3 separate regions of the Homo sapiens genome follow, and all the other regions are linked to region 3. The links are contacts of gene promoters, found by promoter capture Hi-C in blood cells and fetal thymus (Javierre and others, 2016). All regions are on one chromosome and are shown on one strand. The core of a region is centred on a gene start or on the middle of the fragment in contact, and the rest is flanking DNA. Distances in the headings are between cores, read along the strand shown.

What was found. Contacts are between HindIII fragments. The CHiCAGO score rates a contact against its expected background, and 5 or more counts as called.
Region 1: a fragment that was not itself captured here is called in contact with the fragment with the promoter of GPR107 in region 3 in 3 of 17 cell types (naive CD4 T cells, activated CD4 T cells and naive CD8 T cells); the score reaches 6.4 in naive CD4 T cells.
Region 2: a fragment that was not itself captured here is called in contact with the fragment with the promoter of GPR107 in region 3 in 1 of 17 cell types (erythroblasts); the score reaches 5.1 in erythroblasts.

Annotation. Positions count from the first base shown.
Region 1 is chr9:129,815,985-129,819,444 of GRCh38, forward strand. TOR1A (torsin family 1 member A) reads right to left here. Exons shown (of 5, transcript NM_000113.3): 3 at 2,761-2,936; 4 at 2,536-2,663. Among named protein-coding and RNA genes, the nearest start is that of TOR1A, 6.4 kb to the right of the region's middle. The HindIII fragment of the contact is 9,361 bases long and covers 1-3,460 here.
Region 2 is chr9:130,239,777-130,243,042 of GRCh38, forward strand. MIR12126 (microRNA 12126) reads left to right here and starts at 1,611; the gene lies at 1,611-1,712. RefSeq lists enhancers at 1-72, 153-332, 854-1,148. The HindIII fragment of the contact is 900 bases long and covers 910-1,809 here.
Region 3 is chr9:130,052,612-130,055,982 of GRCh38, forward strand. GPR107 (G protein-coupled receptor 107) reads left to right here and starts at 1,295. Exons shown (of 18, transcript NM_020960.5): 1 at 1,295-1,462. The coding sequence starts at 1,322. It also overlaps a transcript of FNBP1 not described here. RefSeq lists a silencer at 1,283-1,592. The HindIII fragment of the contact is 2,204 bases long and covers 1-1,466 here.

The DNA.
Region 1 (3,460 bases), core at 477-2,976, 240 kb before region 3:
GATCACAGCACCACCTGCCCAGGACCCTCCAGGCCTCTCTCTTCCACTTGGAATAAGACTCAAGGTTCACCATGGCCCGCCAGGCTTCCCACGGTCTGCACCTCCACCCCAAATCTCGCCTCTTCTATCACCTCCCGTTTCCCTCCTCTGTTTATCCTCAACCAGTCACAGGGACCCCAAGCACAGGCCCCCCTCGGGCCCCTGGACGTGCTGTCCGCACTGGGGAATGCTTTTCCCTCAGACATCCACATGGCTCACTCCCCCGGGTCAGCCCAAATGCCACCCTCACAGGGAGCCTTCCCTGTCCACTCTATTAAAGCAGAGCCCATCCTTACCCTGAACCCCAAAGCCTTTCTTGATTTTTTTCCCCTACTGGCCCCGGGGGGAAAGATATCTATATGTCCACATGTGTACATGTGCGATGTGTGCATATGTACTGCATGTATACACACAAACACATCACACACATCAACATATCTATCCCCCATCATCTGATACATTTTCTTTCTTTATTATCACTAGGATGTAGGATTGATAAGGGCAAGAATTTCTGTGTTTGTTCACTGCTGTGTCCCCCGTCCTAGGTATGATGCCTGGCACTTACCAGATGCTCCATATACATGTGCTGAATCAATGTTCAGCCATCTGCCTGAGGTCACAGTCAGTCTGTGGGCCAGGGCTGCCCGACTCCCAGGTTGGCACTCCTAAGCACCGTGTAACCTCCACAGCGTGGATTCTAGGCCACGGGGCTCATCTGCCTCAGCATTAGGCTAAAGTTTCCACTGCATGTGCTCATGTTTTTTGGCAAGGCAAGAAACTATCCAACATGTTACAAAATACTTGTCTTTCCTCAGTAGTATTCCACTTGCACACACTGACATACTGTACCCCATGCTGTTCACTAACTGTAGGATTAATTTCTTGGCAAGTCTGTTTCAAATGAGCCCTTCTGTTTTGTCATCTCCAGAACCTGAAGCGCAAAGACTTGAACAGCCAGCCCTGCACAACTCACAGGTCTTAGCCAGTGAGTCAGCCTCCATCAGGCTGGCTTTCCACCTCCCCAGGTTCAAGGTCAAAGGTCTCATGACATTTGGAGAAGTAGTGAGCTAAAACTTAAAAGCTCAGGTTTTAGAATCAGAGATACCGAACAGGCTGCATGGCCCTGGGCAAGCTGCCACATCTCTGAGTCTCAGTCTCTACCCTGCGAGGTATGGTGAAGACTGAGTGAAATCCGCAGGCAGGCTGTTTCACACGGTGCCCAGTACAAAATAAGGGCCGAACCGCTATTTGGCTGTTGCTCTTGGGCAATGCAGAGAAAGGGAGGAACTAACAGGTCATCTCTCCCCCTGAGCTGCCCACGGCATCCTTCCTTGCTCAACCACTGGCTCTTTCTTCTACAAAGAAAATCATGTAGCTGAAGAAAATGGGGGAACTGGCCAGGCGTGGTGGCTCACGCCTGTAATCCCAGCACTTTGGGAGGCCGAGGCAGGCGGATCACGAGGTCAGGAGATAAGACCATCCTGGCTAACATGGTGAAACCCCGTTTCTACTAAAAATACAAAAAATTTGCCGAGTGTGGTGGCAGGTGCCTGTAGTCCCAGCTACTCGGCAGGCTGAGGCAGGAGAATGGTGTGAACCTGGGAGGCAGAGCTTGCAGTGAGCCGAGATCGCGCCACTGCACTCCAGCCTGGGCAACAGAGCGAGACTCCATCTCAAAAAAAAAAAAAAAACAGCAGGCCAGGTATGTAGCTCATGCCTATAATTCCAGCACTTTGGGAGGCTGAGGCGGGAGGATGACTTAAGTCCAGGAAGTCAAGACCAGCCTGGGAAACATAGGAAGACCCAGTCTCTACCAAAAAAAAAAAAAAAAAAAAAAAAAAAAATTAGCCAGGCATGGTGGCGCAAGCCTGTGGTTCCACCTACATGGGAAGCTGAGGCTGGAGGATCACTTGAGCCTAGGAAGTCAAGACTCCAGTGAGCTGAGATCACACCACTGGACTCCAGCCTGGGTGACAGAGTGAGACTCTGTCTCAAAAAATAAGCTGAGCACAGTGGCTCACGCCTGTAATCCCAGCACTTTGGGAGGCCGAGGTGGGCGGATCACCTGAGGTAAGAGTTCAAGACCAGCCTGGCCAACATGACAAAACCCCATCTCTACTAAAAATACAAATATTAGCTGGGCATGGTGTGCACCTGTAATCCCAGCTACTCAGGAGGCTGAGGCACAAGAATCGCTTGAGCCCGGGAGGCAGAGGTTGCAGTGAGGCAAGGTTACGCCACTGCACTCCAGCCTAGGTGACAGAGTAAAACTATCTGAAAAATAAAAATAAAACAGCACTTGTCAAACATTAGTGTTCATAAAAGTTACCTGGAGTTCATCAGCAAAGATTCCCCTCATGACTCGGAAGGGGACTGAGAATCTGCATTTCTTTCTACCCAGCTCCCAGGTGATGCTGACAGTGACCCTGATGCTTTTAACACTTAGGGTGCAGGATTAGGAACCAGATGGGACTGGCGGTGGATGGCCCTACTCACTGTTCTTGTTATTGAAAACCGACACAGACAACGCGTGTTCAATGTCTTTGAGCTTGATGTCTTCCCTCTGCTTTCCACTCCTCCAGAAATCCAAAGCCACATCTGTGATCCTTTCTGCTCCAGCATTGCTGCAAAACAATCCCAGTGGGTAAGGACAGGGTTTTCTCCTGGAGCTCAGAGGCTTGGGCTCGGGGCCCATCCATCATGTCCTAGCCCTGACCTTACCTGAGAAATATGAACATGGCTTTCTGGTAGGAGACCCCATCCACCAGGTCATAATAGTCGAGGAAAGGCTTGATGGCATCTATGAGGCCTGCATGCATCTTATCCATTTCATCAAATATGAAGATGGACCTCGCACAGGCACTCACGTTGCCTCGAATCCACAACTGTAACTGATCCTGAATTAAAAGGGGAAAAAGCGAACACAAAGTTCTCAGCCAGGGCCATCAATCAGCTCCTTCTACCACTAAGAACCGCAGCTTCACTTACAGACCACTGTGCACTCGGCACTAAGAACTTTACATGCCCAAAATCTTCTTTGTTCCTACCAACCCCATGGAGTGGGCACTATCGTTCTCATTTTACAGATGAGGGAACTGAGGCACAGAGAGCGCTTACTCCACTTGCCCAAGACTATATGTGGCAGAGCTGGGACCTGAACCCAGTCCTGTCTCACTCCAAAGCCCGATACTTTGGTTACGGTTCCCGCACTGCGAGATGCCACACGGATGCTGTCAGAGATGCTGCTCTTTTGTCATCAAAGGGGCAATGTGGGATGTCATGAGGATACTGATTTTTATTTAAAAAGGGGGTGGGGTCGGGCATGGTGGCTCACACCTGTAATCCCAGCACTTTGGGAGGCTGAGGCAGACGGATAAGTTGAGGTCAGGGGTTTGAGACCAGCCTGGCCAACATGGTGAAA
Region 2 (3,266 bases), core at 110-2,609, 190 kb after region 3:
TCTGGAGGGCTGATTCCTGACTAGACTGTTTCACACACTTGGGGACTGTCCCTGAGGCAGAGATTGGAGGTAATTTACATACCCACACAATGTGCTGTTTCCACCGAAGCACTGAAAGTAAATCTGTGCACGGGCGCCTGTCTTTGGAAATACCAAGCTCTGGTTCAGAAGGCCGTTGTGAGGGCAGCTGGGGCAATGTTTCCAGCAGAGGGTGAGCTTGAACGGGGGTGAGCTGTTGGTGGAGGAAGCTCAGGTCTTTTCCAGCAGCCTTGGGCGTGGTGCCTACAGGGACCACGGTTCAGAAATGGTGTTGCTGAGGGCACATGATGGGTCATGGTCCCTTGCTCTGCTCGAGTCAGGCTAAAGCCTGTGCTGACTCACCCCCTGGCCCAGCCTGCGCTGGATGGCTTACTGTGGGCTGAAGCTCAGTAGAGGCACAGACCTGGCCACCTGCTTTATCAGGATGGCTCAGATTGGCTGCTATTCCCTGGGTGTGATAGCACCAGTGAGTCCTCCTAGAGGGACCATCCTAGAGGTCCCATTTCTCCCCACCTCGGGCCTTCCACCCTGTCCCCACTGACCCTGCCAAGCCCCAAACTCACATCTGCATATTAGAAAGTATCTCTCTAAATTGTACTCCCCAAAGCCCAGCTCAGGGCATCCCCAGGCATACAGAGGAGATGACAAGGAGAAGAGTAGGGAGTCGGGCTGGGAGTGGGAATGCAATGTGGATCCCTGCCCTACAGTGGCCCCCTCCTCCCTGCCATCTTCCTGCCCAGGGAGTACAGAGGCAGAAACTTACCCTCCAGGTTCATTGGTCTGGAGGAACTGGTTCAGGACAGTGGGCATGGAAAGGGGCTGGGAAGGCCCCCTGAACTTAGGCAAAATGAGCTTGTGTAGGTATGGAAAAGCTTTCTACTTCTTCCCCTTATCTCTTTTTAGCTGGGCACAGGGCCATGTGGAACAAAGGACTACATTTCCCAGCCTCCCTTGTGGCTGAGTGCGGCCATGTGACCCAGTTCTATCCAATAGGATGAGAACAATGAGCATAACTTTCCCTCTTCCCTCTTCCTGCTGACTGGATGGAGGACTCTGAAACAAGCCTTCCTAGAACTGGGTCTTTGACCCCATGGAGCTGCCACACCAGCTTTGGACCATTTACACTGGAGCTCTTAGGAGGAAGAGAGACACACATTTATCTTGATTAAGCCATCCTGAGTCTCTGTGTCAACAGCCCAATTTATATTCTCCCTAATGTACCCAGTGATCTGCTGGGTCGCTTTCAATGACCTGATGCCACCTGCAAATGTTTGCATCGAAACTCTCAATGTTTGCCAAAGTGACTTAATAAACAACCATACAGTGCCATGTGCTGGTGTAACTACTGCTTGCTCATGCCTTTCCCACCCGTCTTCTGCCTTTTCCCTCTTCCTGTCCCAATATGCCCTCCTCCTCCAAGGGCTCAGGGGACTGAGGGTCCCAGCCAGAGGGACTCCTGTGGGAAAGACTTTCTTTTGCAGAAGCACTAGGGACCTAGAGGCTCTAGGTTATTGGGGAGCCCAGGGCAGCCCCTGAGGACCGGGCCAGTTGGGTTTTCACTGGGTAACCACAGGAAGGGGACTGGGCAGGCTGGCCTAGGGTTGAGCTCAGGAAGGATTCTGCCAGGGGTTTCAAGACTTGGGGACCAGACCTTTTCTTGTCTCTACAATTTCCTTCCTCAGAAATTGCTCCCTTCCTCCCAGAAACCTAAAATAAGCCATCCACATGAGCAGATCTTGGGGATAAAAAAATATGATAAAGAGTAAAACAAGCTTTTTTCTGACAGTCAGGGAGAAGGGTGGGAAGAGTCCCTTTGGTATCATTGTCAGATGACTGAGAGTAGGTCCCGTTTTAGTCACTGGACTGTTGGTTGCCCCCAGAGGTGAGGGGAAGTCTTTGTGATATTGTGGAGTGCCCACTTTATTCTTTGAGGATTCTGAAGACCCAATTCCTATGTTGGGCATCAAGAGGCCCTTCCTGCCTTAGAAGGGGCAGATCTGTGGAATGCCAGGGGCCCGAGCTGGGACCTGCAGGGGAAGGTGCAAGTGCTGGCCTGGAAGGAGGGAGAAAGGGAGCTCCCAGGCCAGACGTGGTGGCTCACGCCTGTAATCCCAGCACTTTGGGAGGCTGAGACAGGCGGATCACTTGAAGCCAGGAGTTCGAGACCAGCCTGGTCAACATGGTGAAACTCCACCTCTACCAAAAATACAAAAATTAGCTGGGCATGGTGGCGTGTGCCTGTAATCTCAGGTAGTCGGGAGGCTGAGGCAGGAGAACCGCTTGAACCCAGGAGGTGGAGGTTGCAGTGGGCCGAGATCACACCACTGCACTCCAGCCCGGGTGACAGAACGAGACTCCATCTCAAAAAAAACAAAAAGCAAAAAACAAAGGGAGCTCCCAGTCATGGGAAGGGAATCAGAGGGAACCCTGAGGTTCGGATTCTACCCCCATGCTCGTCCATCAGATCAACTAATACAAGCTGGATGCTGCTTAAGTGATTTCTAGGCAGAAGCCTAAAGCTAACCAGAATCCTTCACCCATTTCCACAGGGATGAATGAGAGCCTGGAGTGTATATGCTGGGCAGCCACAGTGCCAGGCTTCTGCCACAGCCTGTGATGAATGCTAGCCTGGTTCAAGAAGGAAGGCCGGGGGCGGTGGCTCATGCCTGCAATTCCTGCACTTTGGGAGGCCGAGGTGGGTGGATCACTTGAGGTCAGGAGTTCGAGACCAGCCTGGGCAACATGGCAAAACCCCATCTCTACAAAATACAAAAAAATTAGCCAGGCATGGTGGCACTCACCTGCAGTCCCAGCTACTCAGGAGGCTGAGATGAGAGAATTGCTTGGGCATAGTGAGGTCGAGGCTGCAGTGAGCCGTCATAGTGCCACTGCACTCCAGCCTGGGTGACAGAGAATGAGACTCTGTCCAAAAAAAAAAAAAAAAAAAAAAACAACAGCAGTAGCACACACAGGAAGGTTATGGACACCAGCCACAGATGGGCAGTGCCAGGCCAGTGACGCAGTATCGGGCGGGGATTGGGCTACTCTCCCTACCTCACTCCCCAGGGGCCTCCCTGGACAAGGGGAAACTTCAGCTACCCTTAAAGGATGGCAGGATGTACATGGGCAAGGAGGAGAGGCAAGGGCATTCCAGGCAGTGTACAGTAGGTGCAGAGGAAGGACTGCAGGAAATCGACACACAGGGGAAGAGAGGAATGCAAAGGAGT
Region 3 (3,371 bases), core at 45-2,544:
TTAGTAGAGACGAGGTTTTGCCATGTTGCCCAGGCTGGTCCCGAACAACTGACTTTCAAGTGATCCGCCCGCCTCGGCGTTCCAAAGTGCTGGGATTCAGGCGCGAATCACCACCCTGCCAGGCCTCATTTCGTTTTTAGTACAGTATTATATTCAAATTTAAAACCAGAGATTTTCAAAGATGCCACTTAACTTTAAAAGATAAAAAGTACTCCAAAGCAGGTTGGGCGCAGTGACTCACGCCTGTAATCCCAGCACTTTGGGAGGCCGAGGCGGGAGGATAACTTGAGGTCAGGAGTTCGAGACCAGCCTGGCCAACATGGGAGAAACCCCGTGTCTACTAAAAATACAAAAATTAGCCGGGCGTGGTGGCGCAGGCCTGTAATTCTAGTTACTCCAGAGGCTGAGGCAGGAGAATCGCTTGAACCCAGAAGGCGGAGGTTGCAGTGAGCTGAGATCGTGCCATTGCACTCCAGCCTGGGTGACAAGAGCTAGACTCCGTCTCAAAAAAAAGAAGTTCCTATAATTTCTGAAAGAAGCAAAGAAAGTTTCCATACAGAATTAAGAGAAAAATGTTAAGACCCAGACTTGGGGTTGGATGAAATAGCATGAGGCAACAGAACACAGGAGTTAAGAGCTTCCGTGTGATTCCCAGCTCAACCTGGAGCAAATGACTTATTTCTCAGAGCCTCAGTTTGCTTACCTGTAAAGTAGGAATAATGATAATACGTACCTCCTAGCTCATCAAATTGTTCCAAAAATTAAATACAACAAAAGGCCTAACAAATTGCCTCATAAGGGCTCAATCAATCGTATTATTGCAACCATTTCGCTTGTATTTGAGTGTGAAGCGCCTAGAAAACCACAGGACCCCTACGGCGAGCCGGGAATTTTTAGATATTTTCCTCCGAGTCAACGCTCAGTGAAATCAGTTCAATCAGTGGCCCGACACCGTGCGGCTGACACAGCTTATCCCCCGACCCTGAGATCAGGGGTCCCCGGAGCCCAAGGTCGCTTCCAAAGCTCAGCGAGGCGGAGGTGCGGCCCGGGCTGGTCTGGTTCGGCCACCGTTGTTATGGCAACCGCCAATAGGTTGGCTTCATCTCTAACTGAAAGTCTGCACAGGAGCGGCCGATCGAAGGGCCCCGAGGTGGGCAGCACAGGCTCCTCGACGACTTCCTAGGTCGCAATCTCCAGGAAAACGACCACAGGGTCAGCGGAGCTAGCCGCCGAGCCCCGCTCCCCGGGCCCTTCCGGCGGCTGCGCCCTTTCACCCCGGACGTGGGCGGGAGAGGAAGCGGCTGGTGATGCTGGAACAAACATGGCCGCTCTGGCGCCCGTCGGCTCCCCCGCCTCCCGCGGTCCTAGGCTGGCCGCGGGCCTCCGGCTGCTCCCAATGCTGGGTTTGCTGCAGTTGCTGGCCGAGCCTGGCCTGGGCCGCGTCCATCACCTGGCACTCAAGGTAAAGCTTGGCAAGGCCGGGCCGGGGGGCGGAGGCCGAGGCCACTCCCCGGGTTTTAGGGCAACTTTGGCCCATTGGGGACCTCTGAGCCACTGGACCACCTCTTTGCCCCTGGCTGCGGCCTTTCACTGACAGGTGGCGGGGTCTGTGGGGAAGGCGGGTCTGGGCGGCGCTGGGGTCTTCGGGCTGACCGGCACGGGGCGGGAAGACTCGAGCTGAGGGAGGGGAAGGGGCTGAACTGTGGCGTTGCCCCCACGGACTCGGGAGGCTGCTCTTAAATCCCTGCTGGCTTCCCTGAATTCCTCACTCAGGGCAGCCCGATCGCCTTTCTTCTTTCTCCCCTCCAGCTTTTATGCTGGCTTTCCTTGTCCGCGGTCTCCGCTCTTCTGTGCCCTTGTACTGTACCGGCGGTTTGAAGGTACTTGGAACCTTAGCCTCAGTTTCCCATTTCGGTTTAGGGCGCTCTCTGGAGCGAGACTCTAGAGAAGGAATTTCAAATCTTGCTTAAAACACGTGACTGAGAATGTAAAGCCAGCATTAAGGTGTGTCTCTAATCAAAGGGCCTGCTTTTTCTTCCTCTATCCAGCCATTGTCTAGGGAAGAGAGATTTTTGATAAACCTAGAATGATACTCTGGATCTTGCTTTGTAACTAGCAGAGAAAAGACCTCTAAGGCTGAAACGCACCCTAAGGTGGTTCAGCAGTTTACTATATCTGGGAAATTGTCCAGGTGCTGTGGCTCATGCCTGTAATCCCAACACTGGGAGGCCTATGCAGGAGGATTGTTTGAGCCCAGGAGTTCGAGACCAGCCTAGTCAACGTGCTAAGGACCCCCTCCCCAAACCTGTCTCTACAAAAAATTAAAAATTAACCAGGTGTGGTGGCAAACGCCTGCAGCTTCTGGGGAGGCTGAGGCTGGAGGATCACTTGAGCCTAGGAGGTTGAGACTGCAGTGAGCCGTGATTACTCATTGCATTCCAGCCTGAGGAACAGAGCAAGACCCTTTCTCAAAACATATAAACAAAATTAGAGACATAGAAAAGTAAATTGTTATGACCCAAACTCTTGTACATTATTTTCATACCATACAGTCTTCTAAGAAGTGGAACTGTAGGCGGGGCGCGGTGGCTCACGCCTGTAATCCTAGCACTTTGGGAGGCCGAGGCAGGCAGATCACGAGGTGAGGAGATCGAGACCATCCTGGCTAGCACGGTGAAACCCTATCTCTACTAAAAATAAAAAAAAAATTAGCCAGGCGTGGTGGCAGGCGCCTGCAGTCCCAGCTACTCGGGAGGCTAAGGCAGGAGAATGGCGTGAACCTGGGAGGCGCTTGTAGTCCCAGCTACTCGGGAGACTGAGGCAGGAGAATGGCGTGAACCCGGGAGGCGGAGCTTGCAGTGAGCCAAGATCCCGCCACTGCACTCCAGCCTGGGCAACAGCGCGAGACTCCGTCTCAAAAAAAAAAAAAAAAAGAAGTGGAACTGTAGAAAGTTTGTCTTGTAAAAACACATTGTTTTAGCAAACTATGAAGCATTGTATTTTGTTAATGTAGAATTTAAAGAATACAGAATGAAATTAAAAGCCTGGCTTGACTGGGCACGGTGGCTCACACCTATAATCCTAGCACTTTGGGAGGCCGAGGTGGGCGGATCACCTGAGGTCAGGAGTTCGAGACCAGCCTGGCCAACATGGCAAAACCCCTCTCTACTAAAAATACAAATATTAGACGGGCATGGTGGCACATGCCTGTAGTCCCAGCTACTTGGGAGGCTGAGACAGGATAATTGCTTGAACCCGGGAGGCTGAGATTGCAGTGAGCAGAGATCATTGTGCCACTGCACTCCAGTCGGGGCGAAAGAACTATACTCTGTCTCAAATAAATAAATAAATAAATAAATAAATGCAAGCCT